Regions from separate parts of the Homo sapiens genome. Here all the other regions are linked to region 5. The links are contacts of gene promoters, found by promoter capture Hi-C in blood cells and fetal thymus (Javierre and others, 2016). All regions are on one chromosome and are shown on one strand. Each heading gives the region's core, a stretch centred on a gene start or on the middle of the fragment in contact. The rest is flanking DNA. Distances are from core to core; before and after follow the strand shown.

Region 1 (3,507 bases), core at 680-3,179, 3.2 Mb after region 5:
TTGCTTTATGATGCTGGCAAGTATGGAAGCCTTTATCTACCGTGTAAATGTATATCGTTGTAATTCAACAGGGAACCGGGCTTCAAATTACAGCCTCCGAATGCAATAACCTTGGTTATTTACCGAGTACAAAGTAAACAACTTACTTTACTGTCAAAAGTTTTACTGCAATATGTTGCGGGGCTTACTACTAGAACAACCATTCAATAATTGTCTGTCTATTTAACGGGCGGATTTTATTTCAAACCAAATAGATACTGTCTTTGTAAATGCTGAAATGTTTGGTTTTTGTTTTTAGCCCAGAAGAAAATTCCCATAAATACAAACCCATTCTGGCCACCTAAGAATTTTGTCCTAGAAGTGGCATGCTTTCTTTCCCTTACGGGTTTTAAAACTTGGCCACATGGTATTTTTAAGTTGGCAAAGTAATACCTTTTAGACACGCCTTCAGGATTTTGCTTAATTGAGTACAGCAGGTTAACAAAAGTGCCAATGTTCCTTTAAAACAAAAACCAAAATGCTCTGTGGACTTAAAGCTAATGCTAAATATTAGATTAAATTGCCAATTGCACTTTTCCATGTTTATCTTCTGAGATAGGAATAAAATTAAAATGTGTTACCATAGAAGCATCTGTAACATTTTATGAGACAAAAGATCCTTTTTTCCACACAAAGATCCAAGCCAAAAGCATTATCCATTAAGGAAAGCAATAAGGCTAGAGGGACATTTTTTTATAGTCATATTATGGAAATACTAAAGATCCAATGTCCTGAAGTCAAATTGGGAAACACAGCTGTTCACATTCATTTTTGTCCTGGATTGACACTCTTGGTTAATTCCTGAATATTGATCAGTTCTTATCCTCCAACATCCCTAAAACTGGAAAAGTTTTCTCCTATCCACATTTATTCTCAAATCACATTTTAGGGAATAACAAAGAGGTGAATATAAATCTATGCCTTGTGAAGCATTTATTTAGGCTCTATGCCTGACTTGGTTTTGTAATCTTGATTTTTATTCTCTGGAGCTTATTTCTTTGGCTCTCTTCTTTGAAAATAATGGCAGGGTTCTCATCTAAAGAAAAAACATAGAGAGCTTTTAAAACCTTGCAGTCCATGAATTTTCTTTGCATTTCATCCTAACCACCGTTGCCTTCTTTACCATTCAGTTCTCCTTTCTCCCAGAAGCTTTCCAGAGTTTCTTCCCTCTTTTCCTTCTGCTTCATTTATTCTGCACCACATGCTCTAAAACTTACCAGTTCATTCATCTATTTACTCTATGTGTGATTCTGTGAACTGTAAGTAGAAGATTCTAGCTGGATCCATTTTAAAACTAAGATAACTTTTTTCCCCTAAACGTAAGCACTATGTCCAAGTTATCAATCAAATTTATCTGCTTTGATAGTTGACTCATTACATACCTGAAACTGGAAAAGTTTTCTTCCATTCACAATTCTTAGGTTAGCTTAATATTTACGTAACTTATCAACCATTCAATTAGAAGTTTTTAAGTATATCTAAGGAAAAAATTTTAATTGCAATCCCTGACTTCATTTAAATTCCAGTTGACTCCCAAAATGTGTTACTTTTCACAGATCGAGAATTTGTAAAACTATAGAAGTCAAGCCACTCAGTTCTCTGTATTCTCCTTGTCTGTTGACAATTTTTAGCATTCTTTAGAAATCTGGTTTTATCGGCAGAATGCAAGATTCTTGAAGGTAAATTTCATGCTATGAACATCAGCCTTCCACAACTGCTTATTGAGTAGACTACTAAGCCAAAGAATCTTAAAGCTTTCTCTGTAGATTTTAAACCTGAAGAGAAGTTAATGTTCTGAATAATTCTATTGCCTCGAGACTACTGTAGATGACTGAGTTACAGCATTTTTGTTTATAAGAATTATCAGTGCCAGGCCTGACTGAGTTACAGCATTTTTTATCAGTGCCAGGCCGGGCATGGTGGTTCACACCTGTAATCCCAGCACTTTGGGAGGCCGAGGCGGATGAATCTATTGTAGTATGGTGGCTGGTCAATAGGCTTGGCCCTTGTAATACCTGAAGCACTAGAAGCTTAAAGCCTGAGAAGAAAGGCCTTGCTTAGTAAGAAATCGACTTCCTGTCCCTCCTGATACAGTACTCAGTGCAGTGGACACAGCTTTTTCTTCTTGGCAGTGAAACCTCCCTCTGCACTTGTCACCTTAAGCACTGCCTCATCACCACCATTATAGCCGTCAGTTTGTGGTATCATTTTTCAGCACTCAGTGTGGTCCAGGTACTCTATAAATATACCACATCCATGATCTGATTTAATCTTCACAATAATCCCATGATATAGATATATTTGCCAGATACGGAAACTAAGGCTCAAACAGAACAGTTATCCAAAATGGTTATGTAGGAAAACTGGGGTACAAACTCAGGTCATTCTCCCTCCAAGGGCCAAGATTCTAACTGCTTTTTCACAGCGGTAGAAAAATATTAAGGGGAACCTCCACCTTTTGATTTGCTCTGGGTTAGTAAACCCTTTCACTAGGTGTGGACGTTTAATAGGCCTCTCAAACTCAACGTGTCCAAACCGAACACTTGATTTGATATCCCCCTTCCCAATCTGTTCCTCATATAGTCTCAGAAAATGGCACCACCATCTAGCCACTTGCTTAAAGCCAAAGCCTGAGAGTCATACTCTGTTCCTTCACAGCTTACTTCATCAGCAGGTCCCATTGGCAAAACCTCCAAATCTGAACACGCTTCTTGCCACCCACACTGCTCAGCCCTGGTCCAAGCCATCCTTCCACGGACATCAGCAGCTACCTCCTAAATAGTATACCTTCTTTTGTGCTCCATATAATGGTCAGAGTGTTCTTTTTAAATTGTAAATCTGATCCAGACATCAGCCTGCCAACAACCCACCAGCACAGGTGGTTGTCAGCAGGCTGATGTCTGGAGCAGATTTTTTTTTTTATTAATTTAGAACAAAATCTTCTGTTCTTAATATAATCTACAAGTAAGGCCCAGCCAGCATGTTCTAGAGTCTGTCCACCTCTCCACCCTCATCTACCACTCTTCTCCCCAACTCACGCCTACAGCTGTGTTCTGAGTAAGCTTTCTTTCCATTTCTCAAGATTTCCAAGCACAGGAAGTCTCAGGGCCTGTGCATTTCCAGTTCCTTCTGCCTGGAGTGCTCTTTTTCCTAGATCTTCTCATGATGACAGGTCTCAGCTCAAAAGTCACCATCTCAGGAAGCCCTGCTCTGAACACTCCCGCCAAAGGATCCCTCCCCTACCCCATTTCTTTCTACCCCATTGCCTTTTTTTTTGTTAATTGTGTAGCATTTACCACTCTCTGCAGTCATTTGTTTATTTACCTGCTTATGTGTTGAACTATCTCTCTCCTTTCACTAGGTCTTTAGTTCCTTATCAGCTGAGTTTGTCTGTCTTTCCCAATTCTATACCCCCAGTGTCCAAAACACCTTGACATATGGTTTGAATGAATGAGTGAATGAATGGCT
Region 2 (3,975 bases), core at 480-2,979, 3.7 Mb after region 5:
AACAACTCACACACCCTTCTTACTACTTGTATTACTTTCCGGTCTGTGCTCTCTCTCCTTGGCCCCAAAGGACTCTCCCCCATATCATTCTTTCACTTCATTTATAAAATTCTGGAAATTGTGCTCTACTCCCCTTTTTGCTAGGTATATATTAACAATGCCTTTCAAACTAGGCTATAAAATTTACAGACTACCAGTAGATGCCACTGTCCAACAAATGATGCTACTGCATCACCTGGACAGTCAGAGGTTTCCAATTGGCTACAAAGTTATCACTTCTTAACTCGACGAAAAGATAACTGAAATGACAAGCATTAAACCAATTTAGAGCAAAGATACTTCTAGTTTAGTTCCATATATGTGATTAAAAACCCAGTTCAATTTTTATAGGAACTCTTTAGGAACAGGGACACTCTTGCTCAAAAAGGTAAATGCATGGCTCCTGCCCAATGAGGATTTATATTTGATAAACTCTAAAGATATAGGCCAGGTGTGGTGGCTTATGCCTGTAATCCCAGCTACTACTGAGGCAGGAGGATCGCTTGAACCCAGAAGGTCTAGGCTGCAGTGAGCCAAGACTGCACCACTATACTCCAACCTAGGCAACAGAATGAAACCCCATCTCAAAAAAATTTTTAAACAATTTTTTTAAAAAGATTATATCCTTTATCGATTTCTGACTAGCTATAAACTATAAATAGAAACACCTCATTTCCATATCCCTAGGTCATTATTTTAGTTTTCAACATTTTTATATACAGCAGAGCCTTTATATTTAAAAAGGCATCAGGATTTTAGCCTATCACTAGTACTAACAATTGTGAGATGGGGCACTATTTGATGTATCTGCCAGATAAGATGTCCACTCTTTGATGTAAGTTTCTAGGACTCAAAAAGAACAAAAACAACCCAACACTTTTCTAAGGGAGAAGAAATAAGGCTCTTACCAAAAAGCTAAACCAAGATTTTAACTAGAACAAATTTCTATGTCTTAATATTATATTTGTAGAGGGAAGCAGAGTGGGAAATCAACTTCATTCCAAACAGCACATAAGAACACTTAGAATATCTTCTCTGAGTAGCTAACAAACTCATGCAAATCTTTGTCAACAAGATTTTCTCCAAGTAGTAAACATAAAAGCTCTTCAACTTAAAAAATAAAGTACTGAAACACTTAAGGTATCCTGTAGAAATAAACATAATACTATTTGTCAAAATTAAAAATGCACATACCTCTGAAGCCTTTGCAGTTCCAGTCCCAAGATTACACTCATATACTTGCAAATGTGCAAAATAAACTCCATACAAGTATTGTCACTGCATCATTAGTTGTAACAGAAAAAGTTCAGAACAAAACTAAATGTCCATCAAAAGGCAACAGGTTAAATAAATTAGGTATACCTTTAAAACAAACATCATTTTCTGTTTTCATTCAGTCATTAAAAGTGACATAACAGTCACAAAACACCAAATATTACATGATTCAATTTATATGAAATGTCCAGAATATGCAAATCTGTAGATACAGAAAGTAGTTTAGTGTACTGGGGAGATTGGAAAGAAATAGGGAATGAATGTTAATGGGTTTAGGATTTCTTTAAGGATGATGAAAACGTTCTAAAATTTACTGTGGTGAAGATTGAACAATTCTGGGACTATACTAAAACCACTGAATTGACTGAATTGTAAACTTTAAATGGGTGAATTGTATGGTATGTGAATTGTATTTCCACAAAGCTGTTATTTAAAAAAGTGAAGCAGCTCTATATGGAATAACACAGAAACATCACCAAGGTATCTTGTTCTATGAATAAAGGAAGATACAGAAAGCTGTGAATTGCATGATACAATTTGTGTTTTCTTACACTCATGCCCAGCATGCTTTATTGGCTTATATATGAAATACAAAAGAAACTTTGTAGTTAACAGCAACTACTTTTAAGTAACTGAATGTCCAGAGGAGAAAAGACTCTTTATGCCTTTTTGTACTTTTGAATTTCGTACTATATGTATTATCTATTCAAAACACATATTTTTTAAGGTAATACAGCCATTACAGTTTCCATTTATCAAATATTATTTCTAATATTCAATATCTTCCAATCAGTATGATTTCCCATGAACAGTTTATTTTATATTTAAAGTAATACCAAAGATTAGCAGCTATTGATCTTTAAAAAGTCAACAGTATTAGGCAATGAATCGCAGCCTAATTTATTATTTTCCTTGTTCCTTGCTTTTCCTGTTATAATTTGCTTTTAAACTGTTTTCCTGCTAATTGGAAACTCCATTTGAAGGTGACCAGGAAAACTGACATAAAAGGACACATATTTGTTAACTGTGATGTTTGTTAGCTGTGTTACAAGATCTGTTGAAGAATCTGGTTGAAATTACTATCTAAAATAAAGTTGGTAAGTAATCCACAGAACTGATTTAATTCTACTATTTCAAGTTGCACTTTGCTTCTGACAAATGATGCATATTCATACCATCAAATCTGCTAAATATACATAAAGGCCACTCTATTAAATGGCCACATTTTCAGCTACAGGTTTTTATCTGTAGTATAAATTGCACTGGAAATCCATAATATATAAATATATATTATGCTCTATAAGGGTTGTATGCTCAACAAAAAAGGGGAGTGATAAATAAAACCACCACTTTCAAAAAAAAAAAAAAAAAACTGCACTGGAAAGTAAAATCTTTAAGAAAGAAAGACTACAACCACACTTCCATAACAATCTTAAAACTTCCCCTTAGTATGCAAACTGGATTCCCACTATTTAGTCTACTGCCTTGACAACTATTTACTCTAAACTAGACAAAATTAAGCATTCTTTCCTTCTTCAACATTTCTATAGCACCATATATGTACCTCTATTTTATATTCGTCATATGACACTGCAATTATTTGTTTACATGTCAGTCTTTTTCACTATACTTAGCTCCTTGTGCAGAAATATCTTATTCATTCCTGTAATTTGGGGAGCTAGCTCAGTCCCTACACGTAGGAGACATGCCAGAAAGTTTGCTGCATGAGTTATTGTTAGCTAAGTACACTTCCATTCCCCGAAACCATTCAGCTTTTGTATTATCATGAACTAAAATTAACCCTTCATTACCCACAGTATTCCAATCCTGAAAAGAGAAGGAAGCAAATACATGTAGTTCCAAACCACAAATAATTTATTCCACAGATAGTTCATCTAGGCTAACGCTAAAAATCAATCAGCTTGCATAAAGCATACACAAAGAGAAAACAGTGCTAAGATAACAACAATGCTGCTTCTGGATTGTTTTTTCTTTTTCTTTCTCTCCCTACTCCCAGCAAATAGATGTATCTGAACCACAGTCACTTATCAAATATTCATAGATTTAGAATGTCTGAATGTAGCTAGTTGCTATGAGAAAAAAAAAAAAGAAAAGAAAAGAATTGAAATAAAGACACACTATAGACCAAAAGGGTTAATAGGATATTTTGATAAATCCCTGATACCTGCTGGCTCAACTTCAGTGCCAAAGAAAACACCAACTGTAAGGTCCAAGCTGGAGCCATTAGTGACCGGAAAGGGAAAGGTAGCAAAGGTCTACTTCAGCCCTCTCTTTCTTACAAAGGACCAGCAAACCAAAATAAACTGCCTTTTCTTATATAGGTGATTAATTCTTAAGTACCTACAGTAGGCTAGGACAAAGATTCCATGGCTAACTGGCAGAGGTAGATAAAAACACTTGTGTTACTCAAAAACCAAGTAAATACCTAATCAAAATTTCTAGCACACCAGCTAATTAGTGATCATATATTTTTGAGTTTTAGCACCTTTTTATTACCCTCTTCATTAATCCAGGCAATTTTATCAACTAGTACCCTGGCGAAAGGCAAATAATGGAAAAGTAAAAATTAGGAAAATGGGAGGTTCCAGATAGTTTAGACAGACCATAGTAGTAAAAGGACAAAACTATCTAAAGTTTGTG
Region 3 (3,768 bases), core at 792-3,291, 3.2 Mb after region 5:
TCATTCAACATTCATTTATTTCTTTGACAAATATTTAAGAGATGCTCATGATGTCCTAGGCATTGAGCTAAGAACTCAATGTTGCAATGTGGATAAGATCCAGTCCCTGTGTGTTCATACTTATTTAATACTATTATAGACAAGGCCTTTAATACATACCATAGTCATATATCAATTTTTAATTAGCAATATGAAATAAGAGAACAATGGGACTTTCCACTCAATTTGACAGGTGGCTAAATTTTCAGTTACTGAATTTACTATTTTAGGGTAATCTAGCACATGACCAAAATTTAAATGCACAGAACAGAAGATCAGAGTAAGAAGAGCTTCCATTTGGATTATCACTTTTTCTACTTGGAGTCACATACTGTACTTTAAATTGATTAAGAACATGTTAAAGGTCCAGGTGGTGATTTCCAGCTACAAGTCCAAAGTATAGAAGAATGTGTTTAAATCCTACGTTTATCAGATCCATAAATATAGTTCCTTCTATGTTAAGTGGCTTTATTTCTAAGAACCCAGCCCTCGGTCCTGGGGGTGCTTCCCAGCCCGCTGCTGGAATTCCTGATCGTGGCAGTCTGCTGAAACATGAGCTCAGTTACCAAATATAGCTGAGTGGAGTAAGAGGACAGATGAGAGTCTGAGGCCACAGTTGCCTCAAAGTGACCACGGACCAGGCAGTCTCTAATGAATAGGCAAGGCCACAACCTCCATTCTCCCAGAAAAGAAGAAATGCTCATCTGAAATTCATCACCTCTCTGGAGTCTTCAAACTGACCAAGCATTGAAAAGGTCTGTAAGGTGTATCTTAATATACTAACTAGTAGGGCAACATTTTAAGGACTTAAAAAAAAAAAAACTAAAAATACAAAAGTTTTTCTGAAGATATGATACTATTTACAAGATACCTTAATTATTCTTTTGCTTGGAGAGGAAACGTAATGAGAATGTTACGGTTTTGCCAAAAACAGATAATACGTAAGATTTGCCTGCCCACTTCATCTCTGCCTTTGCTGTCAGAGAATTACACTTTCTGTTATAAGCTTAAGCATGCTAAGATGGTGCTATCAATTCCAAAAGGATTAAATGTATTTATGGAGCCAGCTTTTGTCAAGATCGTGTATGTGTTATGTTTCACAGAAAAGGAAAACGCAGCTTTCTAGACCCTCACCCATATTTAAGCTAGATAAGTGATGATGGCTTAAAGTGATAGACCTTAGATTTCAGTAACATTATAAATTGTTAATTACACTTTCAAAAGATTCTAAAAGTAACTCACTGGACATAATTAAATGAGTTGGGATAGTAACAGCAGGTATTTTAAATTATATTCATGCATAAAATTTACATACATATTTTTAATAAGATAACGCTTACTAAGGGAAACCACAGTGCAATCTCGAGTCCAGTCAAGTTTAAACATCACAGAATAATTTTTATCATGTTGTTTTAAGTTGCACATGAAATTGTCTTGAATCCAATATAGGAGGTTGACATAAAATGATTTCAGGCTCATATTACTTATTAACATTTGCTAAAAATACTAATTGCCTTCTAGTATGAATAATGTGGTGACATATAAAGCCATTTCTTGGCAATATAAAACTATTACAAATCTATTCAATCACATATATGCAGAAATTAAATCCTCATTTCATGATAAATGTGCCTTCCAATGTTTTTTCTCACAGAAAGAACTTGAATACTCACCTCAATTATTCAGATTTTTTTTTCAGATTTTTAAAATCAAAGTCTCTTTGACAAGTTATTGCTAACAGCAGAAAAGGCCGATGAGGTTTATCTGGCCACTAACTGCCCTGTAAATACATGATTACACATTCCTAGAATATAAATTAGTCCTCTGGCATCCTAGAATCTGGTATGGATTAGGGTCTGTATCCCAGGGGTTCTGTGTCAGCTCTTCCTCTGGGTTTCTCTGTTATTGCTAGAGCTGAATATTAAAACTGGCCTTATAGCATATTTCACAATAGAATGAGGATCTGGATTGCACTGGACAAGTACAATCACTTTGACCTCCTTACCTCATTTTTTAAAAATGTAGAGGGCAATCATTATTCAGGTTTAAAAATAAATATGACAAGTTCTTTAAGAGATACCAAGTGGAATCTGCAAGGCCCAGACAAGAGCTCCACTTCTTAAACAATATGTGTGTGGAGGCTGTCAAAGGGTATTGCAATTACTGAGCTCCAGTTAGAAATTCAGGCCATCTAGAGTTAATGACTGTGTCCCGGTGAAATTACAGCAAAGAAAACAAAGATTGAACAAAGTATCTTCGACTAAAATTTCTAACTGTTAAATCATATTAGAGAATATAGAAGCAAATTTGGTAAATAGGTTTTGAATTTAAGTGAGAAGAATAAAGCCCTGAATTGGATAATGGTAATGGAAATGGATAATTCAGAAGTAAAATCTAAATATTTGCAATGGACTCAGTATGGTGAATAAAGTTGATAAGATGAACAGGACATGGGATAACTTCAAAAACTCTGTAAAGTATCTTATTTGGCTGTTTCTGCATTAAATGAGCTATTAGATTATGTCCTTGAAATTGAGATTAAATAAGCTGTTTAAAGAGATATTTAAAACTGTAGGATAAATATATCTGCCTGCATTGACAATTTAATAATTAGAAAGGAAAATAATCCATGTGTATTTATTAAGAAATAAATTATAAAATTGTAGTGCATTTTCTGCATCAAACATAAAATTTCATAAAATTTTCGTGTTTGACTTTTGCCCTAAAGGACCCTTTGTAGCAAAAAAAAAAAAAAAAAAAAAAAAAAGGAAGGAAGAAAGAAAGGGAGACGGGGAAGAAGGAAGGGAGAAGGGAGGGAGGAAGGGAGGGAGGATGGGAGGGAGGATGGGAGGGAGGATGGGAGGGAGGAAGGGAGGGAGACATGGAAGAAGGGGGAAGGGAGGCAGAAGGGAGGGAGGGGGGAGGGAGGAAGGGAGGGACTTTATTGATTTAGTCTAGGGGGGTTGCCTGTGATTCTGAAGCATGAAAATTAAGTGTTAAAGCTTTTCTAACTTTGGTTTTCATAGTTTAGGTTTTATTAAAAGATATTTCAATATCTAATATTTGTATCAATGGTTTGCATTACTTTTTTAGTAATTGCTTAAATATGAAAATAAAACTGCTAAACCTAAAATTAAAAATCACTTATAACTTTTTTTCAAAAATTACAAAATAAGCAACAAAAGATCCCCCTGCATGTCCCACCTTTCAACTCCTACCCCTGCCTAAATCCCCCCACAGAGGTCAGTGTTGATTGTTTGGTGTATGTTATTCCAACCATTTTCATATATTTATTCCTATCTATGTATACATTTTTAAATGACTATGGGAATTTAGCTATTCCACCTGGACTCTCTAAAGAATCTGCTGAATGTGGTACATGGTATTAAGTGATCCTTACTGCCTGTCAATGTTTTTCTAACATCAAACTTTTTCTTTCAAAATTGTAGCAGTTCTTCATCGACTCAAAGTATTTCACAAACAGACTTCAAAAGTTTTCCCCTTATCTAAATTTTTAAAGTAATTTCCTATAATATCTCCAATGAGAGAAGAAAACTTTGCAGTTAAATGCAGGCTTCCACCCTGAGTCTGCCACTTTCTGATGGCTCAGGTTGGGCCAAATAATTGAAACTTTTTCTGCTGCAGTTGTGGGTAATACAAACAATAAAATAGAAAAATAACATCTACTACATGGATTGTTCTGAGGATCAAACTGTTCACTTTTGAAAG
Region 4 (3,727 bases), core at 191-2,690, 3.1 Mb after region 5:
ACAATTGCTTCTAGGAGTAGGATGAGGGAATGGGCTCATAATATACTTTTGTATTTGGGTTGAGATTTGTTACAATTGGAAGCCATTCAATCTGTAATTTTTAAAAACCATAGTATAATACACTGTTGAGGATGTTTATATAGATCAATCCAAATAAGGATAGTGCCTCTATTGATTTGCCATTCTACTGGAATGTAAATACAATTTCTTCTCAGTTTTGATCCTAAAGTGCTTCCTAGAATTTAAGCATACAAAATCAGAGAGCAAAGAAAGATGGTTGAGGGAAGTCTCCTCCTACCTCATGTTCCTAGGTGTCCTTAAAATAAGTATCTATTGTTGCAAATAAAAATTAATTTTAGCTATCAACTACTCTGACTTAATGACATTTCTAGAAGATTATATTCAAGAACTGTAGAATATATATTATTTCCAAGAACACATGGTACATTCACCAAAATAGGCCATGTATTGGACGTCAAAACAAGTCCCAATAGATGTTTAAATTATTGAAATTATACAGAAATATTTTCTTCAACCACAATGGAATTAAATTAGAAATCAATAACACATCTAGAAAAAACAAGAATTTATACATTAAAACAATAGTTTTTTAATTTTTAAAATCATCCTTAAGTGACTTTATAATTGTATTTTTTTTTTTTTTGGTAGAAACAGGATCTCACTTTGTTATTCACACTGGTCTTGTACTCTTGGCTTCAAATGATCCTCCCCATTCAGCCTCTCAAAGTGTTGTTATTACACATGTGAACCACCTCACCTGGACTAATTGCACATATCTATGGAGTACAGGGTGATATTTTGATATATATGTATACAATGCATAATGATCAAATCAGAGTAATTAGCATATTGATCACATCAGACACAATTATTTGTGTGTGTGCGTGTGTTGGAAACATGCCAAATCTGCTCTTCTAACTATGTGAAAAAATGCAATAAATTACTGTTAATTATATCCACCCTATGGTGCAATAATGTCCTCCAAGATCATCATGTTGCCACAAATGACCGAATTTTGTTTTTTATAGCCAAATAGTATTATATAGTGTATATATACACCACATTTTCTTTATCCATTCATGTGTTGATGAACACTTAGTTTGTTTCCATATGTTGGCTATGTAAATAGTGTTTCAATAAACACAGGACAGCAGATATCTCTTTAACATACTGATTTCCTATCCTTTGAATATATATCTAGTAGTGGAGTTGCTGGTTCATATAGTAATTCCTTTTTGTGTTTTTTGAGGAACCTCCATACTGTTTTCCATAATTACTGAATTAATTCAAATTCATACCAGCAGCATATGAGTTACCCTTTCTCTACATCCTTACTAGCATTTTTTTTTTGTCTTTTTGACAACAGCTATTCTAATGGGGTGAGATGCTATCTTATTATGGTTTGGATTTGCATTTCTCCGATGATTAATAATGTTGACTATGCTTTCATACATGTGTTGGCTATTTGTATGTCTTCTATTGAGAGATGCCTATTCAGCTCACTTGCCCACATTTTAATTGGATTATCTTTTTTTTCTTTTGCTATTGAGATGTTTGAGTTCCCTGCATATCCTGGATATTAATTCCTTGTAGGATAAATACTGACAAATATTCTTCCCATTCTGAAGGTGTCTCTTTACTCTGTTGATTATTTCCTTTCCTGTGCGGAAACTTTTTAGTTTGATATAATCCCATTTGTCTACTTTTGCTTTTGCTACCTGTGCTTCTGAAGTCTTCTCCATAAGATCTTCACACTAACCAATGTCCTGAAGCATTTCCCCTATGTTTTTTTCTAATAGTTTCATAGTTTTGGGTCCTACATTTAAGTCCTCAATCCATTTTGAATTGATTTTTTAATATAGTGAAAGTGAGGGTTCAGTTTCATTTTCCTGCATATGAATATCCAATTTCCTGAGCACCATTTACTGAAGACACTGTCCTTTCCCCAGTGAACGTTCTTGATATGTTTTTGTCAAAAATCATTTGGCTGTAAATACATGAATTTATTTTTGGGTTCTCTATTCTGTTCCACTGGTCCAACTGTGTTTTTATGCCAGTACCATGCTGTTTGGGTTACTAGAGCTTTGTGGAATACTTTGAAATCTAGTAGTGAAATACCCCCAGCTTTTAAAACAACAAATTTCTAAATAATCCACCAGTCAAAGAAAAAAGAATCACAAGAGATGTTAGAAATTATTTCTAATTAAATGGTAAAGAAAAAACCATTAGATGCAAATTTGTGATATGTAGCTAAAACAGAGCTTACAAGAAAAATTTTACTGTTCATAAATAGAAAATAAAAAAGATCTTAGCTTAAAATTTCAATTTATGAAGTTAGTGGAAAAAAGAGTAAGGAAAATCCAAGAGAAACAAATAAAGACAAGAGTAGAAATCAGTGAAATTAAAAAAAAGACAATACAGAAAATTAACAAAGTGAAAAAAGCTAGGTCTTTGAAAACATCAGCAAAATTGATAAATCACTAACTAGATTAATCAAGAAGAGGGAAGACACAACTTAGCAATATAAAGGATAAATGAGGGCAGAAGAAAATGGAAATTATCACAATAGAGAATCTGTGAGGCTTTGTCACATACAGTAGATGATATTATGGCTTTCACACATTTTTTAAAAAGTTAACTCCTTATTTTCCCTTAGCAGTATATCAGGTTATAGAATCAGAGATACAACAATGACAAATTACATTTCAATTTGTAAAATTATGTGATGATATTTATCATTCGAAAATAGAGGAATAAAAATCTGTCCTCATTTCACCAGATGTGAATTTCAAGTAGAGCAGTTGCTATTAAGAGTTGGTGCATGTTTCTGACCAGTCCCCTCCTGTTATGGCATCACTGGTTGTCACTAGCAGCTAGCCAAAAAATAAAGTCTTATTTTGCTGTATTAGTCAGGATTTCTGCAGTTTATGTTTAAAAACTGGTTTAGAGTATCCAGGTGATGGATATATGGTCCATGTATCCCCTTTTGGTAAGCTATAGTTACAATCTGTGTGCTTTGTTGCCTGCTACACAGAAAGCAGCAGATAATCAAAGATTTAAGGGACACAGACAGCTGCCAATTCACAAAATGAGAGTGTAACATGAAAGCTTTTTAGAGGTTTTTTGTTTGTGTTCTAACAAAACATGTTAGAACACGTTTTGTTAGAATACGTGTTGCTTTTGCAGTGTTCTTCTTTTCCTTAAGACAGGAATCAAGCTTACATATAAACTGTTGGTAATTTTAGTTTCCTTCTGTGTTATTCAGTGTAAAACTGCATAATCTGAAAATGAATGAAAAAATAAATATTTAGTGGCTAGGCACAGTGGCTCATGCCTGTAATCCCAACACTCTGGGTGGCCAAGATAGGTGGATTGCTTGACCTTGGGAGTTGGAGACTAGCCTGTACAACTCAGCAAGACCCCATCTTTATAAAAAATACAAAAATTAGCCAACCATGCTGCCACACGCCTGTAGTCCCAGCTACTCAGGAGGCTGAGGTGGGAGGTTCACTTGAGCCCAGGACACAGAGGTTACAGTGTGCCAAAATCATGCTACTGCTATGTTGCAGCCTGGGAGACAGAGTGAGACCCTGTTTCAAATTTTAAAAAAAGAAAATTTAGTTTCCATTCCAAAAAAAAAAAAAAAATGAAAGAAGGAGCTAACTAACACTAACATCACTACAAATCTTTAGGCAATAAGAGGAAA
Region 5 (3,799 bases), core at 290-2,789:
ACAGAGTCTACATGATTCTGAAGCAATAGGCAAACAATTATGAGGAAGGGGTCAGACAGCAAGCTGACCTAATTATTAATCCTCAGTGTGCTGCAAGCTTGGTTTAATTTCGTTCCCCCCACCCCTTTTTCCCAGATTAACTTCATAAAGTATATAGGCATGGTTTCAGACACCACTGTAAAGGCATCCTAAAGACAGGGCTGACTCTGACAACCAAGGGACAGATCCCATTTCTTTTCATTTGACGTGACCGCTGTCATGATACTTTACAAAGAATGTGTGTGCCAAACATGAGGGATAGACGAATAAGTACAGGTCACACTGAATCTAAAAAAGACACTTTTCAAGAGGGAACTTCCTCAAGGAGATAGTACCTGAATTGATGGGGCGGCATGGAGATGGCTGATTATTCCAGGCAGAAGGGCCAGTTTGAGCAAAAGCATGGAGGAATGAAACAATAGTATTCTGTTTTCAGAAGCTGTATATATTTGACACAATATACACATAATCAAAACATGTGTACGCCGTAAACACAATTTTTGTCAATTATACCTTAATAAAGAAGGAGGAAAAAGGGCCTTCACTAGCCCAAATGATGCCCCTGTGCGGTTTTTTCTTTAAAGGCACCTCTTCCGTTAAGTGAAAGTTTTAGTATATTATCACATCTGTACAGTTTTATTATTAAACCCCAGTACACAATATTTTAATGTTGAGAGATGGTGTAAACTGAGCTTTAGAGCTGCAAAGACCTGCGTCAAGCCCCCGCCCCCGCCCCCGCCCCCGGGCACTCATCGTCCAGCACAACAATTGCAACAACACCTGGGCGTTCTCTGCCCATGTAGCGAGGTCAAGGTCCTGGGAGCCGAACTCTCCCTTGATGTTCAATCTTTTTAAATCTTTCCCAGCCTTTATTTCTCATCTGCAAAATGACGATAATCGCATTTGAAATTCTCCGTTTTCAAAATGCAGGAATTTATTAAAGGATACGTAGGCTGGGGAAACAAGGGAGACGAAAGATCTAAATCTAAATGGTAGACCAGAAAAAGGAAGGCAAGGGTGTCTGGAAACACAAAACAGTCAACATAGATTTTAAGACTCATCTATACTCTCTTCTTCCCGGGTTTGGGAACTGCGGTTGCTACACAGGTCACATTTGAAATAAAAGTCCTGGGACGGCGGCCGGCGCGACACTCTCCCCCGCACAGCGCAGGCTCTCACTGGGAATCTGCCGGGACCGCAGTTGCCAAGGCGACTCCGCGCTGCAGGGCGAGGCGGCCATCCGTCTGTGCCCGCCCCCTCACGCCGTGGCGCGCTCTCACGCTTCCCCGCCTCCGGGCGCTCCGCGGTGCCGACCATTGGCTGGCTCTGCAGGTCTCACTATCCTCACTCCATCCGCGGAGCCAATGGCTGGGACCGCCAGGAGCTCGTTCGCGCGAGTCACACGATGTCGGCAACTGCACAGACCAATCACCGCGCCGAGAAGGCGGGGCGGGAGCTCTCGCAGGCCAATAACGACAGGACGGGCCGCCTGGCCCACCCGGCTCCACCCCCAAGCCAGGCGAGGCAGGTTCCGAGGTTGGAACACCTGGCGAGTCCTCGGTGTCGGTGGCCGGCAGTCATCTCGCGGCCGTTCAGGTGAGGGGGTTGGAGGAGTGGCTCATGAGCGAGGAAGGGGGAGCAGGCGGGCTCCCACCCGGTGCTCCGTGAGATCGAGGGGAGCGGGTTCTGGGTGCGGATGCACGCGCTGGGCGGGACGCTGGCAGTGGTACCCGAGACGGGGCGGAAGGAGACTGGAGTGAAGGTGGGCCTAGGCTAAGGTACGTGCTAGAAAGGATGAAAACGGAGTGAAATTCTTAAGTGATGGAACTAGGCTAGGGCATGTTTCTTGCCCTTTAAAATGTGTTGTCTTCGGGAGACAGGACGTAGAAGATAGTTGCAGCACAGGGTGATAGGCTGGCGAAAGTTATACAAAAGCAGGAACCACTAGAAGGAGGTAAGATGTAGTGTGCTTTGGGAGTAGTGGGGTTGGGAAGGGCGTCCGAGAGGAGGTTACTGAAGGATGACTAGGAGTTGAATGGGAGGACATCACCTGTAAGGGAACGATATTTCCGTGGGCAGAGAGGAATGAAGCAGTAGCAACCATGAGTGATCAGATACTGCAAAAATGTGAAGTGTAGGATGGCGAGAATGTAAGAAATGAAGAGTGAAGAAGTCTGGAAGGGCCTCGTGTGCATCAATCACAGCGGGGCTTGATCTTTATGCTTAGGGCAAGCACTCCCTTGAACTTTGAGTGTTTTAAGGAGGTTATCTCTGATGTTTAAATTTATATAGATCGTGGCATTGCATCTTAGAAATAAGGTTTAGGAAGGGCAAGCTTGGAGGCAGGGCAAGTCCAGAAAATGAAGGAGCTGGTGAAATCCGTGTTAAAGTGCCAAAGGACAGAGACTGGCTGACAGCTAAACTTCAAGGTTTCTGAGAATCCACAAATAACTAAATTTATCTAGTCAACCTGTTCCAGAACAGGCTTCCAGTCATTTAGGTTGCCCAAGAATGAGTAAAGGAAAAGGAAATTCAATTTTCCAAGACCTTGTTTCCCCTCTCCTCTTTAATTCCTTGTTCGGTTAGCAACAGTATATCCATTCCCTCGCTCCTTTGTGAAAAGTAAATTCCTGAATGTTAACTAAACCAAGTGTTTCTAAATTGGGTAAGAGTTTGAAGACTTAAGGCAGCAGAATGGGAGAGACTTAAAACGTTATGTCTGAGAATTAGGCATTAAAGGAGGCCTAGTATTTGGGCGGGGGTTGTGAGGAGCACATACTGAACCTTTGGACCTGTTGAGTGAGTTCATGTGCCTCTGAACTCTCTGACTGGATATGACCAGTAAACTTGGATAATTAGATCCTGGAGTTTAGGGGAGAGGGCTAGAGATAGAGATGATGGATGTCAGCATATTTTTAAAACAGAAAATAGTTAAGATCACCCAAGACAATCTGGAATCGTTAGAAGGGAGTAAGGAAGGCATTATTGGGAAACTTTCCAGCTTCAATTCTCATATTTTTTCTAATCTCCTGGTTGAGTCTTTGGAGTTGCTGTTCTCTCTATGCAAAACCCCTCCCTTGACCCTCTCTCCCTCACTCTATTTTTTAATTTGTCACCTCCTTCTCCTGTTCTAGGTCTCAGTTTAGATAGCACCTTTCTCTAGAAGTTCATAGCACTGTGTATTCCCCCCTTTATTGTTCTTATCACATAATTTTTGATGGTTTGGACACTAGTTGTTATTCCTCACTAAATTTTATGTTTTATGAACTCAGGGGTAAGGGCACCAGCTAGCACAATGAATGCACAATACTTGTCAGAGTGAATGCATTTAAGTTCCAAGAACCAAGGAAAGGCGGTATTTCAAGAAGAGAAGTATCAAATCTTCCAGATTAGTCAAATAAACTCCAAAAAAAAAAAAAAAGGTTTATTGGATTTGGCAGCTGGAGATCCATAGCGATTTTTTTTTTTTTTTTTTTTTTTTTTTGAGACGGAGTCTCACTCTGTCGCCCAGGCTGGAATGCAGTGTCGTGATCTCTGCTCGCTGCAACCTCAGCCTCCCGGGTTCAAGCAATTCTCCTGCCTCAGCCTCCCCAGTAGGTGGAATTACAGGCATACGCCACCACACCCGGCTAATTTTTTTGTATTTTTTTGGTGGAGATGTTTCACCATATTGGCCAGACTGGTCTGGAACTCCTGACCTTGTGATCCGCCCACCTCAGCCTCCCAAAGTGCTGGGATTACCAGCGTAAGCCACCACACC
Region 6 (3,995 bases), core at 433-2,932, 3.2 Mb after region 5:
CTCAAAAAAAAAAAAAAAAAAAAAGCTTAAATACAAGACGGAAAAAAGGGAAGCGGCTTGCTGCCTGTCAATGTCCAGGTTCGAATGGCTGTGCTCAGATGTGGTGACCCTTACTTTCTCCTCAGCACCCCAGATCCCCAGGCCCCCTCGGGTGCAGAGGACCCGTTAAATGCCTGAGCACTCTCCTCTCTCACGGTGGTTGTCCCTCTTCCCTACCTCTCCGCGAAGCTGCCGCCCGAGCCCAGTGGGCGCCCCAGCTTCCCTCGCCCGGCGCGCACGAAGCCACCAGGCCACCTCCCCGCCCGGTCCATCTGGATGTTGAAGGAATCCTAGAACCCCCGCGGGACAGCTCCGCTCCAGGGTCCCTAGCGACACCCGACGTCACCCGCAATCCTCACCCCGGCCGCCGAACCTGCTAGGTCCAAAGAGCTTCGGAGCTGCACGCCCCGCGGGGAGGAGGTGGAGCAGAGGAGACCGAGCGCAGAGCCTGGCGTCGGACTGGGCGCTCTGAGCCACACAGCAGCCAGCGCCTGAGTTTTTATCTAGGGAGTTAGTTTCGGTTTCTTTTCTCCACCGCGAGGCCTTTTCGATTTCCGCAGTTTTCTGGAGGTAGAATATAGGTCTGCATTGGTTTACTCTGAGAATCTTAGGGAAGTAATAGTAGAAGCGATGATATGCTATCTGGGACATGCATGTAATTGTAAAGGGAAAGAAAGCAGAGAAATCTGGGACTCTAAACAAGGAATTGAGGCTGAGAGTAAATGCAGCACGCTAAGCACTATGAAAGTCTGCGGTGAGGTGTGGCGTTTTTCTTTTCTGGCAAGGTACTGGACAGGCAAAAATGGAGTAAAAAAGGATTAGGGGCTTTGAGTTTCTGTCCTAAGAAGTTCATTTTATGAAAAATTTCCAATAGTATAACTGTCCAGTGTGAACATTTGAAAGACCAATCATCTATCACAGAGAATTTAAATTGAGAAGAAGAATGCTCTTTAGTTTTGTCATCAAGCTCATTAATGTTTGAAATTCGAGTTTCAACCCCAGCCCATCATGGTCTTTAGTGCTCCAGACGCTTAATTCCATGACGTTATGCATGTGCAGAATATATTGAGATTCAAGGTGGTGGTGAGGGTGCCCCAGTAACGGCATGGGGTAATAAATGGAGAGAAATCGAAACCGGAAGTTCTGTCTTCAAGAAAAGGAAAGGGTGGAAGTGACTTGTTCACAATAGAAAGAGCCCAGAAGAACAAAGTTTTTTCTCAGACTCTGGAATATAAAGTGGCTTCGAAAAGGAGGTGAAAACATTGCTCACTTCTGTCAGGATTTTTCTTTAATTTTATGTTTGGTTGAAAATAGTTATGATTCTCTTTCTCAATGAGGATGACATTGAGAAAGAACCTGAAATGACTCATGATTAAGTCATGAGTTCATCTCAGATGAATTCCTCTCTAGCATCTGATACTGGACCTTTGTATCATAAGAATGCATTTGCTAGCAGCAGAAAATTGGGCTTTGCTGTAAAAGCATTCATTGAGCTTTTTATGTGCCAGGCAATAGGCTAAGCCCTTAACATGTATTATCACATTAAATCTCACAGAAATCCCATGAGCAACTTTACTGTTGCTATTTTATGGATGAGGTAAATAAGGCTTAGAGAATTCAATTACTTGTCGATGACCCTACAGGTAGTTAATGGTAGCCAAGACTTCAAAATTTAATTCCAAAGATAATATCTACAATATTCTCTGTATATATTATCTCATTCCAGTTCTTTTAAATACTACAGTGTCATTATTCCTCCCCCAAAGCACATACAATTTAATGGGGATTTCCTCTTTTGGTTGTAGAAGTGGGCCCTACATGTTCTTAATATAATTGACTGTCTGCTGTTGTTTTTCTCTCTTAAAGATATAGATGTATCAGGTGGGGATTCCCTAGATGTTAACTCCACACATCCCACTTCCCACCGCAAAGTATATGTACAATGCACATAAGCAGACTCTACTCCAAATCAATATCCAGTTCTCTTCCACTTTAATAATATGTTACCATAACTCCAGCCTGGACATTATCCAGAAACTTGAAAATCATAAACTCCATTTCCACTTTTTAGAGACTTCCCCCTTGCCTCAATCTCTCAGTCTCCTTAGGAGCCCCACTCTTTCACCTCCCCAGGATCAACTCTGTGAACAGGCACTGAACCTTCCTCTCACTAACATTCTCAACTGCTTCATCCACTCTCTTTCCTCTGCACCTTCACTGCAACTTGATCACCTCAATCTAGTAAACCATTTTTTGCCCTTACCAGGACATTGAAGGAAATTGTCTAATATTTTTCACCTCAGATTTACTGTTTATGACTATAGGTTCCTGATCTTTTTTACAGTGGCCCTTAAAACCCTACAGCATCTTGCTGTTCTCTTCAAGTCCACTAAGAATATATCTGTTTTAAAGAGACTCCTTTTAACTGTCTGACACCTCCATCTAGTCCAAGAAGCCCATGACATGCTCCACATACAATATAACCACTCCCTTTTGAGTTGGTTACCTCCAGCTTCCTCAGGAATCTCACTCCATTCCTATATTGTTAACCTCTCTCTATTTACAGCTGTGGTAGACTGAATAATGGTCTCCCAAAGACATCTATGTCCTAATCCTTGTACCTATAAATATGTCATCTTCTGTTGCAAAAAGAACTTTGCAGATATTCCTAAGAATCTTGAGATGGGGAAATTACCCTGGATTATCTGGGGACCTGATATAATCAGAAGGGTCCTTATAAGAGGGAAGGACTATTATCAAAAAGGAACCAGGACAAGGATAATGTGGGAAATTATCAGGATTTCAAGACTGCAAAGGATGGTAAAAGTAAGAGACTCACTGCTGGGAAAACGTACTCTGGAGAAAAAGTCATGAGTACAGCTGGACAACCTTTTGCTAGTGCTTCAAAAAGATCTCTGTGACATACACAGGAAATCCAAAAGATTTCTGAGAATATCAGCAGAAACACTGCCAGCTTGAACTGAAAGGTACAGAGAGAGAATAAAATGAAAGACGGTTATAGGACTCCCAAAATTCCATAAGCAATAAACAGTCTGATAAAACTATTCAGCCCCAAACTTGTGCTATCTTTCATGAAGGATGACTCTGAGGGCAGAGCCTAGAGACACAAATGGTTATTCACAGGCCTTAAAACCTATGGAGTTAGCCTTGCAGATTTTTGAAATTTCTTGGCTTTTTCTCCTTCCATTTTCTCCCTTTGTGAACAGGAATATCTGTAACTGGTACCCTATTCCTGTTCCACCATTGTATTTTTGGAGCAAATAACTTGTTTTCTAGTCTTAAAGCTTCACATATGGAGAGAAATTTTGCCTCAGGATGGTTCATACCCAAAGTCTCAACTATACCTGATTTAATCATTTAGGTCTTTTCAGCAGATGAGATTTAGATGGGATTTTTGGACTTAAGTTGATACTACAATAGATTAGGACTTTGGGGGGACCTTGGAATGGCTCATTTTGCATATGGAATTGATGAGAATGTTTGGGGCAGAGAGTGCAATGACAAATAAATGGCTCCCAAAGCTGTGCATGCCCTAATCCCCAGAATGTGTGCATGTTACCTTACAGGGCAAAATGAACTTTGCATGTGATTAATTTAAAGATCTTGAGATGGAGGATTATCCTAGATTTTCCAGAGTAGGCCCGATGTAATCTCAAGGGTCCTTGTAAGAGAGAAATGGGAGATCAGAGGAGAGAGAAGATGCTGTGCTGCTGGCTTATACATGGAGAAAGGGACCACAAGCTAAGTAATACATGTGCCCTGTAGAAGCTGGAAAAGGTAAGGAAACAGACTCCCCGTTAGACCCCCTAGAAATAATGTAGCCCTACCAATACCTTGATTTTTAGGCTTCGGACCTCCAGAATTGTAACAAATGTGTGTTTTAAGTCACCAAGTTTGTGGTAACTTGCTATAGCAACAATAGGAATCTAATGCAA
Region 7 (3,651 bases), core at 861-3,360, 3.1 Mb after region 5:
CTTAATTTATTCATAACCTGTACTTTTCCAATAATTGAGGTATTTTATAAGGGTAAAGATAATACAATATGATCATATAAATCAAAATTTGGTAAAAAGGAAAGAAAAACAAGAAAGAGACTAAAATGGGGCACAAATTATATTCCAAGATTCCTAGGAGCAAGTGTGAATGACACATTTCAGAATGTCTATGAGATAAACAGCTATTTATTCTCAGCACTAATATCAGGTAAGAATTTTCCAGGGGGATTCTTACAAAAGGCAACCGTGTGGACATAATAAAGAATGCCCCTACCAACTCCTTACAGTGGATAGTATGACAATTTCCACAAGCCTACTTCGGACTCAGCTCCATCTGTGGATGGACCAAGACAAAAGAATAAATTGACAGGTGCAGCTCTACACTCTGGTCAAAGTGATATGGTCTCTTTACTGCTATGCCTTCCATGTCCTGCCATTGTGCCACTGCTGGACACCGTTCTAGGGCAGCACGTGCTGCTTACCATGTACACCTTGTGTTGTTTGCCACCTTCTCGAATGTGTATGCTATACAGCCCCATCAGGAGAGCAAGCTCTTGGAAGGTAGCAACTATGTTTCCCAATCATGATTTTTGCTATAGTTTACACATATTTATTGCTCAATAAATCTTTGCTAATTGACTAATATAGAGCAGTTATCCCAAATTATGGTACATAATATAAGAGGTACATGAGATGATTTAGTGTGACACACAGAACATTGAGTAATTATACATCAGTTTTAAAAAATAAAAAGTGGGCTGGGCATGGTGGCTCATGCCTGTAATCCCACCACTTTGGGAAGCCAAGGCGGGCGCATCACTTGAGGTCAGGAGTTTAAAACCAACCTGGCCAACCTGATGAAACCTCAACTGTACTAAAAATACAAAAAAATTAGCCAAGCGTGGTGGCGAAGCCTGTAATCCCAGCTACTTGGGAGGCTGAGGCAGGAGAATGGCTTGAACCTGGGAGGTGGAAGTTGCAGTGAGCTGAGATTGCGCCACTGCACTCTAGCCTGGGTGAGTGAGCAAGACTCTGTCTCAAATAAATAAATAAATAAATAAATAAATAAATAAATAAATAAATAAATAAAAATATCTTCTTTCCAGTCCTCTTCTATTCTTTCTGATAACCCTAGAAAGTCCAGAGGCAATAGACCACCATTGTTTCTCTAAAAGTTTATAATCTCTTTTTGTAGCAAAGAGAGAGAAGCTTCAGCTGAGAACCATGTTAACTGCATCTATTTTTATGGCTTCCTTAGTTTTGAAATCAAAGATCCTGGCTTTCTATTTACAGTAGTAGTAAATATGAAGTTTCCTTTTTAAATACTTTAAAATGTGTATGCATTTAAGAAAATGATTAACAGTTCCAGTGGTTTGCAATGTGGATATATGTCAGTAACTAAAATTGGGTGCTCAGGTCTGGAGGTATATCCAGAGGCATTGTGAGGTCAGAAAGCCTAGATTAATGCTAATTACCTTTTTGTTCTCTATTCACTAGGGTTACTGGATAGAAACAAGCTTCTTCTACATTCCCAGGTTCTAATGCACATTTTCTTGGGTTCTGTTTGCTTGTTATTATTTTGTTGTTGTGTCTTTAAAAAAATAAGAAATTGGAAACAAACAGTGTTACAAAAAAACTTAGAAAATAATTTTTCTTTCAGTCTCTCAACCCTTAAGTTAGGGGATTCTTTCTTAGGTGACCACCTCAATATTGTCTGAAGAGGACATTAGAGGTCATAATGTAATTCCTTCCCTGCACTCCCATCCCTAGCTGTAAACAATCCCAATGGAACTATAGGTTCAGCAGTAGGGCTGTCATTCTATTTAAATGACTATTTGTGTATGTAATCTCTGTTGCTACTGAATTACATAATTTGCTCCAATAAAGTGAAAAAACTTTAGGGATAAGAATTGTTTGTTAGATTAGCAGGGGAAGATGTTTGAACTAAAAATTAAATAGAACTCTAATTATGAAAAGACAACACTATTAAAACAAATGGAGTAGCTTATATTAATTTAACCCTATAGGTACTGAATGCTTTCCAGTAGCATACATTTAATAACTATCATTATTATATCATTGTAAGTATAACAAACTTTACCTTTGACTGAGAAAAACTTAAATTAGCATTTTGGAATTTTGCTGGAATATATTTTCTTCCAAACAAATTTGCCAATACTAACACGAGCTTTTCCATCACATCTTGGGAAAATTGTTGTGAGCCTATTGAAATAAAGAGCATTATTATAAATAAGAATAATGTTGATTCCATTTATTTTCTGCCTAAATTTGTTTTTATAGTACATTTCCTTTTGTTGAAGGCAAAATTTTCTAGCAAATATATACCTCAGAAATTGACCATATTTGCAATACTATGTGCACATTTATTTTTTTGGGTAAGACAGGAGATTTTATATTCTGTGCCTTGTTTTTCCATCCTTGCTATACCCGCCCTAGTTCCCACCCCAGAATGTTTACTAACTGGTTTCCTGACTTGCACTCTCCTTTCTTCAGGCCATCTTGAGAGTGATCAGCCTTTCCAAAGCATGAATATAAACATATCCCTCCTTTACTCAAAAACCTTTGAGGGTATCTCAACGGCTAATTGAAAAATCCAGGTTCCTTGGCCTGCTCTTTAGGGTGTTTCAAATCCTGTCAAAACAAAGCTTCCAAACTTACCTACCAACACTTCTAAACACTAGCTCTAGGTTCTGGTCATCTTGACCTACTCTCCACTCCCCATAACGCATGAGCACCATACTGTGGGCATTAAAAGGTGGCTAGGTTTAATTAACTGGGCTCTGAAGCATACTAAAATCATATGACCATCAGAAACTTATTGTCTTTCTATGCTTCTCCGTTTTCTCTTCTGCAAATATTCTTTATCAGTTAAGTAATATATAAGTAGCCCTCAAATACTCTTTATTAGAATAAATATCAGTTGACTTTTAGTGTCTAATTTTTTGGCATCTGTAAATCTGAACATATACTTAGTATTTATTTGCTTTAATAAATGAGAAGGAGGAAGAAGAGAAAAACATATCTGCGGTTTTGGCTATTCAATAAATATGTTGCCATTTTTCGACTACAGGTATAAAACCCAAGCTTACCTTTCCAGGCTGGCTTACAGAGATTATGGAAAAGGCCTCTCTTGAGAAAATTTACAAAAACAAGATTTGAAGGTTCATGACCATGCAAATATGATGCAAGTCCTGCAAATTTCTTTGGATTACCCTTTTTATTTAAATAGTCCTAAAAATGAGAAACAAAAAGTTGATTTAACTTGTCATGTACTCAAATACCATAAAATACCAGTGTGAGTGACTGACAAATATTACCTGACTTCATTTATTAATAAATGATAAGTAACATTATCATTGAATGCAGATTATAGAAATTTCAGTTGGTTTAGCATAGAAAGAAGTTTACACGGTACTAGTTACAGAGAACAAAAAGCCAAAGCACGATGATACCTCTTTGATAAGGAGCTGCAAGGAAAACAAAAAGTAAAGTTTCAAAGTCTCCATGGCTCTTCGTCTCTTAAAAGACAGCAATGAATGCTTTAGCACTGACAACACCTATAAAAGAAGAGTACTTTAATTTATCTAGTTTTAAACAGTATTTGTAAAT

What was found. The method cuts DNA at HindIII sites, captures the fragments that hold promoters and counts their contacts. A CHiCAGO score of 5 or more calls a contact.
Region 1: a contact is called between a fragment that was not itself captured here and the fragment with the promoter of MSMO1 in region 5, in 1 of 17 cell types (M1 macrophages). The highest score is 6.3, in M1 macrophages.
Region 2: a contact is called between a fragment that was not itself captured here and the fragment with the promoter of MSMO1 in region 5, in 1 of 17 cell types (total CD4 T cells). The highest score is 8.8, in total CD4 T cells.
Region 3: a contact is called between a fragment that was not itself captured here and the fragment with the promoter of MSMO1 in region 5, in 1 of 17 cell types (total CD4 T cells). The highest score is 8.6, in total CD4 T cells.
Region 4: a fragment that was not itself captured here is called in contact with the fragment with the promoter of MSMO1 in region 5 in 2 of 17 cell types (activated CD4 T cells and naive CD8 T cells); the score reaches 7.7 in activated CD4 T cells.
Region 6: a contact is called between a fragment that was not itself captured here and the fragment with the promoter of MSMO1 in region 5, in 8 of 17 cell types (total CD8 T cells, activated CD4 T cells, non-activated CD4 T cells and 5 more). The highest score is 19.2, in total CD8 T cells.
Region 7: a contact is called between a fragment that was not itself captured here and the fragment with the promoter of MSMO1 in region 5, in 1 of 17 cell types (M0 macrophages). The highest score is 8.9, in M0 macrophages.

The regions. Positions count from the first base shown.
Region 1 is chr4:168,569,998-168,573,504 of GRCh38, forward strand. All of the region lies in intron 2 of PALLD (palladin, cytoskeletal associated protein), which reads left to right. The region is part of intron 1 of LOC124900807 (a long non-coding RNA gene); the gene reads right to left. Among named protein-coding and RNA genes, the nearest start is that of PALLD, 75 kb to the left of the region's middle. The HindIII fragment of the contact is 276 bases long and covers 1,792-2,067 here.
Region 2 is chr4:168,996,969-169,000,943 of GRCh38, forward strand. All of the region lies in intron 4 of CBR4 (carbonyl reductase 4), which reads right to left. Among named protein-coding and RNA genes, the nearest start is that of CBR4, 11 kb to the right of the region's middle. The HindIII fragment of the contact is 5,232 bases long and covers 1-3,975 here.
Region 3 is chr4:168,496,401-168,500,168 of GRCh38, forward strand. PALLD (palladin, cytoskeletal associated protein) reads left to right here and starts at 652. Exons shown (of 22, transcript NM_001166108.2): 1 at 652-794. The region is part of intron 1 of LOC107986198 (a long non-coding RNA gene); the gene reads right to left. The HindIII fragment of the contact is 1,996 bases long and covers 1,044-3,039 here.
Region 4 is chr4:168,463,794-168,467,520 of GRCh38, forward strand. The region is part of intron 4 of DDX60L (DExD/H-box 60 like); the gene reads right to left. Among named protein-coding and RNA genes, the nearest start is that of DDX60L, 15 kb to the right of the region's middle. The HindIII fragment of the contact is 3,373 bases long and covers 1-3,127 here.
Region 5 is chr4:165,326,130-165,329,928 of GRCh38, forward strand. MSMO1 (methylsterol monooxygenase 1) reads left to right here and starts at 1,540. Exons shown (of 6, transcript NM_006745.5): 1 at 1,540-1,635. RefSeq lists a silencer at 1,139-1,478 and an enhancer at 1,569-1,838. The HindIII fragment of the contact is 2,277 bases long and covers 96-2,372 here.
Region 6 is chr4:168,479,979-168,483,973 of GRCh38, forward strand. It overlaps DDX60L (DExD/H-box 60 like), which reads right to left and starts at 514. Exons shown (of 38, transcript NM_001012967.3): 1 at 399-514. RefSeq lists an enhancer at 533-772. The HindIII fragment of the contact is 3,319 bases long and covers 24-3,342 here.
Region 7 is chr4:168,376,232-168,379,882 of GRCh38, forward strand. It overlaps DDX60L (DExD/H-box 60 like), which reads right to left. Exons shown (of 38, transcript NM_001012967.3): 31 at 3,495-3,599; 32 at 3,132-3,273; 33 at 2,123-2,244. Among named protein-coding and RNA genes, the nearest start is that of DDX60, 59 kb to the left of the region's middle. RefSeq lists enhancers at 351-520, 2,984-3,153. The HindIII fragment of the contact is 1,149 bases long and covers 1,537-2,685 here.